2 separate regions of the Homo sapiens genome follow, and region 1 is linked to region 2. The links are contacts of gene promoters, found by promoter capture Hi-C in blood cells and fetal thymus (Javierre and others, 2016). All regions are on one chromosome and are shown on one strand. Each heading gives the region's core, a stretch centred on a gene start or on the middle of the fragment in contact. The rest is flanking DNA. Distances are from core to core; before and after follow the strand shown. Region 1 overlaps BTBD2 (BTB domain containing 2). Region 2 holds the start of AMH (anti-Mullerian hormone).

Evidence for each region. The method cuts DNA at HindIII sites, captures the fragments that hold promoters and counts their contacts. A CHiCAGO score of 5 or more calls a contact.
Region 1: a fragment that was not itself captured here is called in contact with the fragment with the promoter of AMH in region 2 in 1 of 17 cell types (neutrophils); the score reaches 6.1 in neutrophils.

What each region holds. Positions count from the first base shown.
Region 1 is chr19:1,981,454-1,987,114 of GRCh38, forward strand. It overlaps BTBD2 (BTB domain containing 2), which reads right to left. Exons shown (of 9, transcript NM_017797.4): 8 at 5,377-5,523; 9 at 3,995-5,196. The coding sequence ends at 5,035. Among named protein-coding and RNA genes, the nearest start is that of CSNK1G2-AS1, 30 kb to the left of the region's middle. The HindIII fragment of the contact is 8,980 bases long and covers 1-5,661 here.
Region 2 is chr19:2,244,008-2,250,572 of GRCh38, forward strand. AMH (anti-Mullerian hormone) reads left to right here and starts at 5,316. Exons shown (of 5, transcript NM_000479.5): 1 at 5,316-5,737; 2 at 6,330-6,472. The coding sequence starts at 5,326. SF3A2 (splicing factor 3a subunit 2) reads left to right here. Exons shown (of 9, transcript NM_007165.5): 3 at 537-608; 4 at 726-772; 5 at 1,439-1,548; 6 at 2,746-2,795; 7 at 2,875-3,015; 8 at 3,587-3,655; 9 at 3,760-4,648. The coding sequence ends at 4,539. RefSeq lists enhancers at 1,573-2,073, 2,327-3,404, 2,703-3,204, 5,259-5,398 and promoters at 2,327-5,325, 3,260-5,294, 5,046-5,325, 5,116-5,325, 5,294-5,325. The HindIII fragment of the contact is 3,946 bases long and covers 1,812-5,757 here.

The DNA.
Region 1 (5,661 bases), core at 3,162-5,661, 260 kb before region 2:
TAACAGAAACCGACTGATGAGGCGGAAGGTAAGGAAGATGGAAGCAGAGGGCAGAGCTGGGCTCTGTCTGGGGAGAGGGCAGGAGACGAGTGTTCACGTACCATGGAAAGGGGAAGTCACACACATGCGACTTGGCCCCGGGGGTCCCGTTCCCCGACACTACACAAATATACCTGAAAGCCTCAGCGACGGGGCCCAGGCAGGATGGTCCTGGCTGCTCTGACGGCGGAAGGCCTCCTTGACTCCCTCTGTTCACGCAGCAGGGCAGAAAACATCTCCACGGGGGCCACGACACTGTGAAGGGAATCAGCAGTAGCTCCCAGAAGAACAGCGGAAACTGCAGGCAGGTGAAGACCTTGGCAGCACTAGCCCCGGCTCCGCCCCGTGCCTTCTCCCCAGACAACACCCCATACCCGGCAGCAAGGGTGGAAGACCAGTACCACCGTAATATGTTGTGACAAAGCAGAAATAATGCACCTGTAAGAGTCAGATGGCAAGAGGGAAATGGAATGAGCTCATCGATGGTTTTCCCGGCAGTAGCTTGGGGATAAGGACTACTTGTCATGTGCTTTATATATTTACCCACATGTTAACCTTTTCTGATGCTCTTCATTTCTTTCTGCTGATCAGAAATTACATCTGGGACCGGGCAGGGTAGCTCACTCCTGTAATCCCAGCACTTTGGGAGGCCGAGGCTGGCGGATCACGAGGTCAGGAGTGCGAGACCATCCTGGCTAACATGGTGAAACCCTGTCTCTACTAAAAATACAAAAAATTAGCCGGGCGCCTGTAGTCCTAGCTACTGGGGAGGCTGAGGCAGGAGAATAGCGTGAACCCGGGAGGCGGAGCTTGCAGTGAGCCCAGATCTCGCCACCGCACTCCAGCCCGGGCGACAGAATCCCAAAACTACCTCTGGGATAATTTTCAGCCTGAAGAACTTCAATATTTCTTACAGTGCAGCTTTTTTTTTTTTTTTTTTGAGACAGGGCCTGGCCTAGGCTGGCGTGCAGTTGCACAGTCATAGCTCCCTGGAGCCTCCACCTCTTGGGCTCAAGCGATCCTCCCACCTCAGCCTCCCAAGTATCTGGGACCATAGACGTGCACCACCACACTCAGCTAATTGTTTTGTTCTGTTTTGTTTTTAGGTAGAGATAGGGTTGCCTGTCTGGCTCTGTTGTCCAGGCACTTGCGGAGGACGAGGTGGGAAAGTGACCCTGGGATGAGAGGCGTGAGCCACCACGCCGGGCCGAGTGCAGCTTTGTCGGTAACAAATTACAAATTAGCATTTGTTCCCTGAAAAAAATATTTATTTCACCTTTCTTAATAAGGATGTTTTTGCTGGTAGTGGCATTCCAGGTTGACAAAGTGTTTGTTTGGGACAGAGTCTCGCTGTCACCCAGGCTGGAGTGCATTGGCGTGGTCTCGGCTCACTGCAGCCTCCACCTCCCGGGTTCAAGCAGTTCTCCTGCCTCAGCCTCCCGAGTAGCTGGGATTACAAGCGTGTGCCACCACACCTGGATAATGTTTGTATTTTTAGTAGAGTCGGGGTTTCACCATGTTGGCCAGGCTGGTCTTGAACTCCTGACCTCAAGTGATCCACCCACCTCGGCCTCCCAAAGTGCTGGGATGACAGGCATGAGCCAGCATGCTCCACTGACAAAGTTTTTAAAACGCGGCGGCTCACGCCTGCAATCCCAGCACTTTGGGAGGCCGAGGCTGGTGGATCACAAGGTCAGGAGATCGAGACCATCCTGGCCAACACGGTGAGACCCCATCTCTACTAAAAATACAAAAAATTAGCCGGGCGTGGCGGCAGGCACCTATAGGCCCAGCTCCTCGGGAGGCTGAGGCAGGAGAATGGCGTGAACCCGGGAGGCGGAGCTTGCAGTGAGCCGAGATTGCACCACTGCACTCCAGCCTGGGTGACAGAGAGAGACTCTGTCTCAAAAAAAAAAAAAAAAAAAAAAAAAAAAAAATTGTGGGTCAACGTCTTTCATTCATTTTGGAAAATTCTTGGCTGTCATATAGCTTGAGTCTCATTCTCTCTCTCTCCTTCTGGGACTCCACTTACACATACGTTCAACCCTTTGGCTGTGTCACGTATCTCGATCTGTTCTGTTTTTCCATTGTTTTTACTCACTGTGCTTCACCTTGCATGTTTGTTTGTTTGTTTTTTGAGACAGAGTCTTGCTGTGTTGCCCAGGCTGGAGTGCAGTGGCGAGATCTCGGCTCACTGGCAAGCTCCACCTCCCGGGTTCACGCCATTCTCCTGCCTCAGCCTCCCAAGTAGCTGGGACCACAGGCACCTGTCACCACACCTGGCTAATTTTTGTAGTTTTTTTTAGTAGAGACGGGGTTTCATCATGTTAGCCAGGATGGTCTTGATCTCCTGACCTCGTGATCTGCCTGCCTCAGCCTCCCAAAGTGCTGGGATTACAGGCATGAGCCACCATACCTGGCTTTTTTTTTTTTTTTTTTTTTTTTTGAGACAGTCTTGCTCTGTCTCCCTGGGCTGGAGTGCAGTGGCACAATCGTGGCTTACTGCAACCTCTGCCTCCCAGGTTCAAGTGATTCTCCTGCCTCAGCCTCCCAAGTAGCTGGGATTACAGATGCACGCCACCACGCCTCGCTAATTTTTGTATTTTTAGTGGAGACGGGTTTCGCCATGTTGGCCAGGCTGGTCTCGAACTCCTGACCTCAGATGATCCACCTGCCTCGGCCTCCCAAAGTGCTGGGATTGCAGGCATGAGCCACCACGCCCAGCCTGTCATTTTTAAATGGATGCTGGACGTTGTAAATGACAGATGGTAGAAGCTGGTGCTGATGTTTCTTCACAGGGCTGTGTTTTCTTTTGGCAGGGTCCAGCGTAACAGCAGCCCAGTGAGACCCTACCAGGGTTTTGTTTTGGAGTGATGACGGCTTCCGTTCTGTCCTCCCCACAGGAGTGTTGCCCTAGCTCCTGGTGGGTGGCCCTTCTGGTGTCTTCATTAGAAGCCCAAGGTGTTTCCTTTTAATATGTATTTTTTTAGAGATGGGGTCTTGCTGTGTTGCCCAGGCTGGTCTCAAACTCCTGGCCCCTAGCAGTTCTGCCTCAGCCTGCCAAAGTGCTGGGATTGCAGGTGTGAGCCAGCACGCCCGGCCCCCAGGGTGTTCGACAAGGCCCCCTACCCCGCCAGCCTCCATCTCCATTGCCTGCTCCCAGCACTGCGCACTGTGGAGATCTGCTCAGCCTTCAGCCTCCTGGCAACTGTTTGCGGCTGGCTTTTTTTTTTTTAGACGGAGTCTTGCTTTCTCGCCCAGGCTGGAGTGCAATGGCACCATCTTGGCTCACTGCAACCTCCATCTCCCAGGTTCAAGCGATTCGCCTGCCTCAGCCTCCCAAGTAGCTGGGATTACAGGTGCCTGCCACCATACCTGGCTAATTTTTGTGTTTTTAGTAGAGATGGGGTTTCACCATGTCGGCCAGGTTGGTCCTGAACTCCTGACCTCAGGTGATCCACCCGCCCGGCCTCCCAAGGTGCTGTAATGACGTGTGAGCCACCACGCGGCCTTGCTGCCGGGTTTCTTGATGTCTTGCCCTGCACGTGTGCTCCTGAGGCAGCAGCCAACGGCTTGACTTCTCTGGCCACTGAGGCCACAACTGGGCACTCCCTGCTTTCTCTCCATCTCTCACATCCACGGTCCCCCAGCAGCCAGCAGGGCCTCCCCACGGGGAAATCGGCACACACGTCCATTGCATTTGGGTTTGGGGGGAGGTGTTGAGTTAGTTAGGGTCTTGCTCTTGCCCAGGGGGGAGGGCAGTGGTGCATCACTGCTCACTGCAGTCTCGACCTCCCGGGCTTCAGTGTGGCCTGTGGGTACTTAAGGAGGGTCTCGCAGCACTGGCGACCAGACCCGGGGTTCAGGGCCCCTCTCGGCGCACGACATCCCTCGCCCACTGCAGCCCGGATGACAGGGCAGAGAGTGAAGGGGAGCAAAGCAGTGTGCGCTCAAGGCAGGTGCATTTGTTTCTTTATTTAAAAAAATCATCTGGGGGCATGGTCTGAGGAGGACACCCCTCCCATGGCTTTGGGGAGGACGCAGGTTCCAGGAGTCACAGGGCAGAAACACGCGGGGTGGGTGGGGGCGTGGCCGGAGTGGGGAGGGGCTGTGCCCCCAGCACCTGGGGGTGGCTCCCACGGCACCAGGTGGGCTAGGGCAACAGTATGTACAGGCGAGCAGTGCTCCTGGACCCGGTCGGGGCCGGCTGGGGCCCCATTCTGCGGCAGGGGAGCTCTGGGGCACAGGGTCTGAGTCCCATCTTGGGCTGCAGGGACCGCGAGGGCCGTCCAGGGAGGCTGGACAGCGGGGGCCTTTATCTGGGCCCATCAGGTGGATGAGAACGGACACTGCAAACCGCTCACCACCTGGGCCAGGGCTAGGCCTATCCGGCAGGGGCCGTCCCCACACTGAATCCTGCGTGCGCAGAACTCAAGCCGGCATCCAGGCAGTGGGAACGCCCCGCAGGCTGGGCTTGGGTGGCCTCGGGCACGTGACAGGTGGGGCCCGTGTCCTGATAAACGGACAGGAACAAAAGGAACGCAAGGTCTGGGACCCACGGCTCTGGGAGCAGCGCCACCCAGGCTGGCTCCTAGCAGAGAAATGGGAATCGCAAATGCATTGCAATGTGCAGTGAAGAGACGCGAGGGACGCCCGCGGCGCACCGCCGGCAGACGACGTGGGCAGGCGCCCTGAGCTGCGGGTCCGTGGGCCCTGGCCCAGGCCGGCACAGCCCTGTCCCTAGTCCTGAGGGATTGTCTCCACAGGGCCTGGCCACTGGCCTGGCCACCTCCCCGGCTGCCCTGATCCAGCAGCCACACTCGTGGTGAACACAGGGCAACCCCGTCCTGATGCTGAGAAAGGTGGCATGGAGTGGACAGACGGCCTGGGGGACACTGGGCCTGGCACCGCGTGGTGGGGGGGCCCCAGCAGCAGATGATGGCCTGGGGCTGCGGCTATCCCCACGGAGGGAGGGCGGTGTCGGTGTCGGGCAGCCTAGGTGTAGAAGATGACCTCGGGGATCTGGCCGTCCTCCACGGATGTGCCATTGTTGTTCCCGGCCGCGTAGCAAAAGGTGAAGCAGGTCTTGGCGCCCGTGGTGGGCGACTCGTGTGTCACCTTGCGCAGGCCTTTGGTGCCGTAGTGGGAGTCTGGGCCCTGTAGGGAATAGGGGTACAGTGAGGTCAAGGACCACCAGGCTGGGATGCCCCAGGTGTGGACAGGGCAAGGCCCCGACTGGGCCAGGGTGGCTGCCTCTGGAGAGTGTGTGCTGTGCCCCGGTGGCTTCAGGATGGGCCAGAGACTCCCACGGAGGGACCCCTGTCCCCGGCGGCGCACCTTGAGCGTGGCACAGGCCGTGTAGTTGACGTTGGGCAGCACCTCCACCGGCTCCTTGAACATGACGCGGAAGGTGCTGGCTGAGCCGTCGCAGCTGAAGCCCGTGTCGTTCTGGCCCAAGACGGTGTTGCTATCGGTGTGAATAATCTGCGGGGAGGTGGGAAGTGGGAGGCTCAGGCCTGGGGAGGGCCAACGGGGACCCCTCGAGGCCCAGCCCACCTGCCCAGGGTGGGGGCAGCACAGGGACCAGGGCCGGGGGTTCAGCCAGGGTTCCATGGAGGTGGA
Region 2 (6,565 bases), core at 4,066-6,565:
ATGGGTAGAGGGGGTGCCACAGCCGCAGATGGTGGAGTTAGACTTTGAACTCCAGCGTCTGAGACGAGATGTGTGCGCCCGGCTGCCCCAGCTTAGGGCCTGCAGATGGGCGGGTCTTTGGGTCTTCAGTGTAGCCCATTTGCTTTTCTTGTGCCTGTGTCTGCCTTGTGCCTACTGCTGGCGTGGTGGCGTGGGCAGTGGACGGCTCCCTGCCTCGGGAGTGACCGGCGGTGCTGTCCTGGCTGTGCCTCCCTCTGACTCAGAACCACCAGGAAGGTGGTGTCGGGGGCTCCCTGGGAACCCCCACTGCTCGAAGCCTGGCCCACAGCCCCAGGTGGTGACACCCGTGCTCACGAAGGCCTCCCGCTGGATCCCCCGTTTTCAGAAATGCTTGACCACTGTCAGCGGTAGCCATGCCTCTACAGAAGGGGGGTTCTGCCTCCATGCCTCTACAGAAAGGGGATCCCGCCTCTGAGGGCCTTGACGGCAGCAGGCCGCGATCTTCTGTCTAACGGGCCCCTGTTCTTCCCCTCCAGGACCCGTACTTCATGAAGAACCACCTGGGCTCCTATGAATGCAAACTCTGCCTGACACTTCACAACAATGAGGTGCGGCCTCTGCCTGGCTCCGGGCGGCTCGCGGCGGGCTGAGTGGCTGACGTCAGGGGGACCTGCCTGTGTCTGTCCGCCCGGCCTCGAGTCATGCGTGTTTCCTTTCCACTCCAGGGGAGCTACCTGGCACATACGCAGGGGAAGAAGCACCAGACCAACCTGTGAGTACCTCATGTCCCTTTGATGCCTGGTGCTCCAGCAGCCGTTGGCTCAAGTCTCTGTGAGCCTCGCGGGCCACTGCTCCACAGCCGGGGAGCCAGCCTGGCCTGAGCCTCCCTGGGCGCTTGAGTACGGTTCCTGGGGAGCATTAGAGAACAGAGGCATGGATGGCTGAGGCGGGCAGATCACTTGAGGTCAGGAGTTCGAGACCAGCCTGGCCAACATTGTGAAACTCCATCTCTACTAAAAATACAAAAATTAGGCCAGGCATGGTGGCACACGTCTGTAATCACAGCTACTATGGAGGCTGAGGCAGGAGAATCTTGAATCTGGGAGGCAGAGATTGCAGTGAACCAAGGTGCTGCCACTGTACTCCATCCTGGGCGACAGAGTGAGACTCTTGTCTTATTAAAAAAAAAAAAAAAGAGCAGAGGCATGGAGTTGTTGGAAGGGCCCCAGCCAGGGACAGTGAGGAGCATGACAGGAAGAGAACATGCCTGTCCTATCCCTGTCCTCAGCCAAACCCCAGGGCCCCTCCCAGGCCCCTGGCCCTCCTCATCTCTCAGCTTGTAGTGAGCTCCAAGGTCAGGGGGCTCCTGGCACCTGGGCCCATGGCTTTGGTGCCTGTGTGTGGAGGGGTCCCAGCAGCACCTCCATCCTGTCCGCAGGGCCCGGCGAGCAGCCAAGGAGGCCAAGGAGGCCCCTGCCCAGCCCGCGCCTGAGAAGGTCAAGGTGGAGGTGAAGAAGTTTGTGAAGATCGGCCGCCCGGGCTACAAAGGTGAGTCTGCCCGCAGCGGGGCCGGCCACAGCCGCTGCCGTGACATAAGTGTGTTCTTTAGTCTCCAGTGCGGGAGGTGCAGCCCTGATAGCCTCCTCCCTGAGCCACTGTTTTCCGGCCTTGGTGGCCGTCCCTCACCCACCTGCAGCCTCTGGCGTTGTGTCTGGGAGCTGTCAGGCTGGGCCCGATAAGCACCCATCTCACCCAGCAGCCCATTTCCCAGCTGAGCCACAGTCTGTGCCCTCCTGTCCGGGTCTTGTGGAAGCTTCTGGGAATTCTTGCCAAGCAAAAGAGTGGAAGTGGAGGTGTGGTGAGCCCTGGCACATCCCTCCGGTTAACCTTGAAGCCTTTGAAGGAGGACAGGGAGAAGCGGCTGTTAGAGGCAGCTCCTCCCGGACCCTCAGCAGTGGGAATGGCTAGAGGTGACCCCGGTTCAGAAAGCTGGGGAAGTGACCAGGGTGGAAGATAGAGACTTGTGTCCATAGGGTTCAGGAAGGCGGGCACGCTACCCAGCAAGTGTTCTTTACAGAAGGCGGGGACAGCCTGTGTGCCTGGCCTCCAGACAGAAGCCTGCAGGGCAGAGGTCCCGGGGCAGGTGCACCGGGTGGGCGAGGGTGGCTAGAGCGGCAGGCTCCTGGTGGGGAGGCCCTGACAGGTCCTGGGCTTGGGCTCAGGACGGTGAGGCGGCAGAGGGCTTGTGAGTGTGCGTGTCTGAGGCCGCATGGAGAGTGGCCGGGCGGCAGGCAGCCCAGCAGCCATTCTCGGGGTCCAGGCTGCTGAGCTCTGGCGGGAAGGGCATCCTCTCTCGCTCACCGTATACATGGTGTCAGCCCTGTTCAGGCGGCCCCGCTCGAATCCCAGAGCCAGGGTGCCGAGGGCCCCTCCCTACCCAGTGGCCCCAACTCCTGCTGGGTGGTATCCCAGCACCCCTGGTGAAGGGCTCTGGGGATTGGGACAAAGGAGCACCATCCTCGGTCCCTGCCTGAGTGACTCCGCAGGTAGCTCAGCTCTGGCGCACCTGTGCCTTCACCTATACCAGAATCCCAGAGCCTGGGCGGAGATTGTCTAATGGTTGCCAGAGCTGCAGGGCCTCCCCCGGGGTCCCGCTCTCGTTCAGTGGGTGGCATTAGCCTGCCCCAGGTTCCTCAGCTTCGGAGAGGACAAGCAGCCGGGACCTGAGAGCTTTCTGTGTTGCAGTGACCAAGCAGAGAGACTCGGAGATGGGCCAGCAGAGCCTCCTCTTCCAGGTGAGATCAGGGACTTGGGCGTGGGGGGCGGCCAAAGGCACCCAAGAGGCGGCTCTGCCACCCGGCCGTGTCCCTGCAGATTGACTACCCTGAGATCGCCGAGGGCATCATGCCACGTCACCGCTTCATGTCTGCGTACGAGCAGAGGATCGAGCCTCCGGACCGGCGCTGGCAGTACCTGCTCATGGCCGCCGAGCCCTACGAGACCATTGCCTTCAAGGTAGCGTGGCTGCGGGGTTCCCTGGGCCCCCTTGAGATGTGCAAGCCAGAAGGATCTGCATAGGCTGGGCAGGATGCCCCTCCCATCGGGCTTGGGGTCCCCTGGGCCCCCCCCAAGTCGGAGCCAGAAGGGTCTGCACAGGCCGGGCAGGGCACCTCTCCCATTGGGCTCTGCAGGAGGGCCTGCTTGGGCTCCACTGGGCCAATGAGAAGGGAGGCCGGCAGGGCTGAGCGCCAGGCCTGTGAGGCCTTTGCCAAGTGACCTCACTTCCTGGGCCAGGCTGCTGGAGGGCTTCCTACAGCCTGTCCCCATGCCTGGACAGGGCGGCCATCAGGAAACAAATAATACAAACGGTGACTGCCCAGGGAGGGGGCCAACAGCGTGCTAGCATTGAGGCCAGGTCTGTTTCACTCCAGAACTGAACCCTGTGCCCCACGAAAGTCTTACCAGCCTTCTCCTGGGCTCCCAGGGTAGAGTCCGGGCTGGGGAGGCTAGTGCCTCGGGCTCCCTGCCTGATGGTCGCCCTGAGGTCACAGGGACCAGGAGCCCTCTCTGTCCCCCGCCCTCCCAGGTGCCGAGCAGAGAGATCGACAAGGCGGAGGGCAAGTTCTGGACACACTGGAACCGGGAGACCAAGCAGGTGAGTGGCTCGCCCCGAGCCTGGCTCCTTCCCACCCAGCCCTGGCGGCCCTAGCCCTGCCCTAGCCCCACCCGTGCCTGCTGAACCTTTCTCCGTCTCTCTAGTTCTTCCTCCAGTTCCACTTTAAGATGGAGAAGCCCCCGGCTCCACCCAGCCTCCCTGCTGGCCCCCCTGGGGTGAAGCGGCCTCCACCCCCGCTGATGAACGGTCTGCCCCCTCGGCCACCGCTGCCTGAGTCTTTGCCACCGCCCCCGCCAGGAGGCCTGCCTCTGCCACCCATGCCCCCCACAGGGCCTGCGCCCTCAGGGCCCCCGGGACCACCCCAGCTACCCCCGCCAGCTCCAGGGGTCCACCCCCCGGCCCCAGTGGTGCATCCCCCTGCATCTGGGGTCCATCCCCCAGCTCCTGGCGTCCACCCCCCAGCTCCTGGCGTCCATCCCCCAGCCCCTGGGGTCCACCCACCAACCTCTGGGGTCCACCCCCCAGCTCCTGGAGTCCACCCTCCAGCCCCCGGGGTTCACCCACCAGCCCCCGGAGTCCACCCACCAGCCCCTGGGGTTCACCCACCAGCCCCAGGGGTCCATCCTCCCCCATCAGCGGGGGTTCACCCCCAGGCCCCGGGGGTGCACCCAGCAGCCCCCGCCGTTCACCCTCAGGCCCCAGGGGTGCACCCACCAGCCCCAGGGATGCACCCTCAGGCCCCGGGGGTCCACCCCCAACCTCCCGGGGTCCATCCGTCGGCTCCTGGGGTCCACCCTCAGCCTCCGGGAGTTCACCCCTCAAATCCTGGGGTGCACCCCCCAACTCCCATGCCCCCAATGCTGAGGCCCCCACTTCCCTCCGAAGGCCCAGGGAACATACCTCCCCCTCCCCCAACCAACTGAGAAGCTGCTCCCTCCCCCAGCAAGCCCAGCGCCAGGTGCTCTTGCCTTTTCCCACTGAGAGAAGGCTGCTCTTTTGTACTGCCCCCCGCTCATTAAACAGCCTCCCCCAGCCCTGAGTGCACTGATGTCCGCAGCGCCGCCCTACTGTGTCAGTGTGTGTGGGAGTGCCAGGCACAGCACCATCCCCCAGTTTGGGCCGACTGGGGAGGGCCTGGGGCCCGCCAGGAGACACCTGTGGGAGGCCTGAGAGATGGCTGTACCTTGGAGATGGCCTGGTGGAGGACAGACCCCACCAGCCAGCTAGGAGGGGATCTGGGGTCCTGTTCTGGGGAGGGAAGAGCAGACTCCACGATATCCTTGGGGTCTCCAGATAGCCCACCAGGGGTGGGGAGGGTGAGCAGGGACAGGGCGCCCCCACTGACTTGGGACCCTCCTCCTCCAGGCCCACACCTCAGCACCCAGGACATCTGGGCCCCCCGCCCCCAGCGCTGTCTAGTTTGGTTGCCTGGCCGTCACTCCCAGCCTGGTTCCCACTCCTGTGTCTTCTGGGGATGGCCCTCAAGGACGGCATGTTGACACATCAGGCCCAGCTCTATCACTGGGGAGGGAGATAGGCTGCCAGGGACAGAAAGGGCTCTTTGAGAAGGCCACTCTGCCTGGAGTGGGGGCGCCGGGCACTGTCCCCCAAGGTCGCGGCAGAGGAGATAGGGGTCTGTCCTGCACAAACACCCCACCTTCCACTCGGCTCACTTAAGGCAGGCAGCCCAGCCCCTGGCAGCACCCACGATGCGGGACCTGCCTCTCACCAGCCTGGCCCTAGTGCTGTCTGCCCTGGGGGCTCTGCTGGGGACTGAGGCCCTCAGAGCAGAGGAGCCAGCTGTGGGCACCAGTGGCCTCATCTTCCGAGAAGACTTGGACTGGCCTCCAGGCAGCCCACAAGAGCCTCTGTGCCTGGTGGCACTGGGCGGGGACAGCAATGGCAGCAGCTCCCCCCTGCGGGTGGTGGGGGCTCTAAGCGCCTATGAGCAGGCCTTCCTGGGGGCCGTGCAGAGGGCCCGCTGGGGCCCCCGAGACCTGGCCACCTTCGGGGTCTGCAACACCGGTGACAGGCAGGCTGCCTTGCCCTCTCTACGGCGGCTGGGGGCCTGGCTGCGGGACCCTGGGGGGCAGCGCCTGGTGGTCCTACACCTGGAGGAAGGTATGTGGGGCCCAGCCCCAAGCTTGGCACCGCCGTCTTCCTTCAGGTGGGCCGGGTCCTCCTAGGGAAGATCAGGGGCTGGCAGAGCCCCCACCCTGGGCAGGGAGGCTGTGGTCTTGTTCCTAGGACTGGGTTGCGGGTCCGTGGCCTGGAAGGTGGGCACCACACTCTGTCCTGTCCCCGAAGCCCAGCTCTTAGACTTGCCCCTGCCTCGGTGCCAGGGAGAGAGCTGCTGCCTTCTCCCCACCCCTGAAGACGACGCAGGGCTCGGGGCCAGTGGAACCCTTCTTCCCACAGCCCCAGCCTGTTCTCAGGGCCGCTGGCCTAAGATACTCCCTGCGGGGAAGGGGCTTCATCGGGCACCCCAACCCAGAGACCCCAGGGCGGCAGCCCCACCCACAGCCTCAGACGCAGCCCCTGCCTGCCCCTGCCGTCACCGCTCCCTGGCTGCAGGAAGGCAGCTAAGAGGGGCACCCTTGTCCCCCGCTTGAGGTCCCCTGCACAGTGGCCAGAGCGGCAGGGACAGATCCCAAAGATTCCCGGGGGGTGTGGCCTTCAATGGCTCAGGCGTCCCCTGCTGTCCCGGCTGCAGTGACCTGGGAGCCAACACCCTCGCTGAGGTTCCAGGAGCCCCCGCCTGGAGGAGCTGGCCCCCCAGAGCTGGCGCTGCTGGTGCTGTACCCTGGGCCTGGCCCTGAGGTCACTGTGACGAGGGCTGGGCTGCCGGGTGCCCAGGTACCAGGGAGTTGCATGGGGCAGTGCCCGGGCCGTGGCGGGGGGCATGGATTTGTTGCAGGGTCTGCAGTACTGAGAACAGCGTAGAACCAG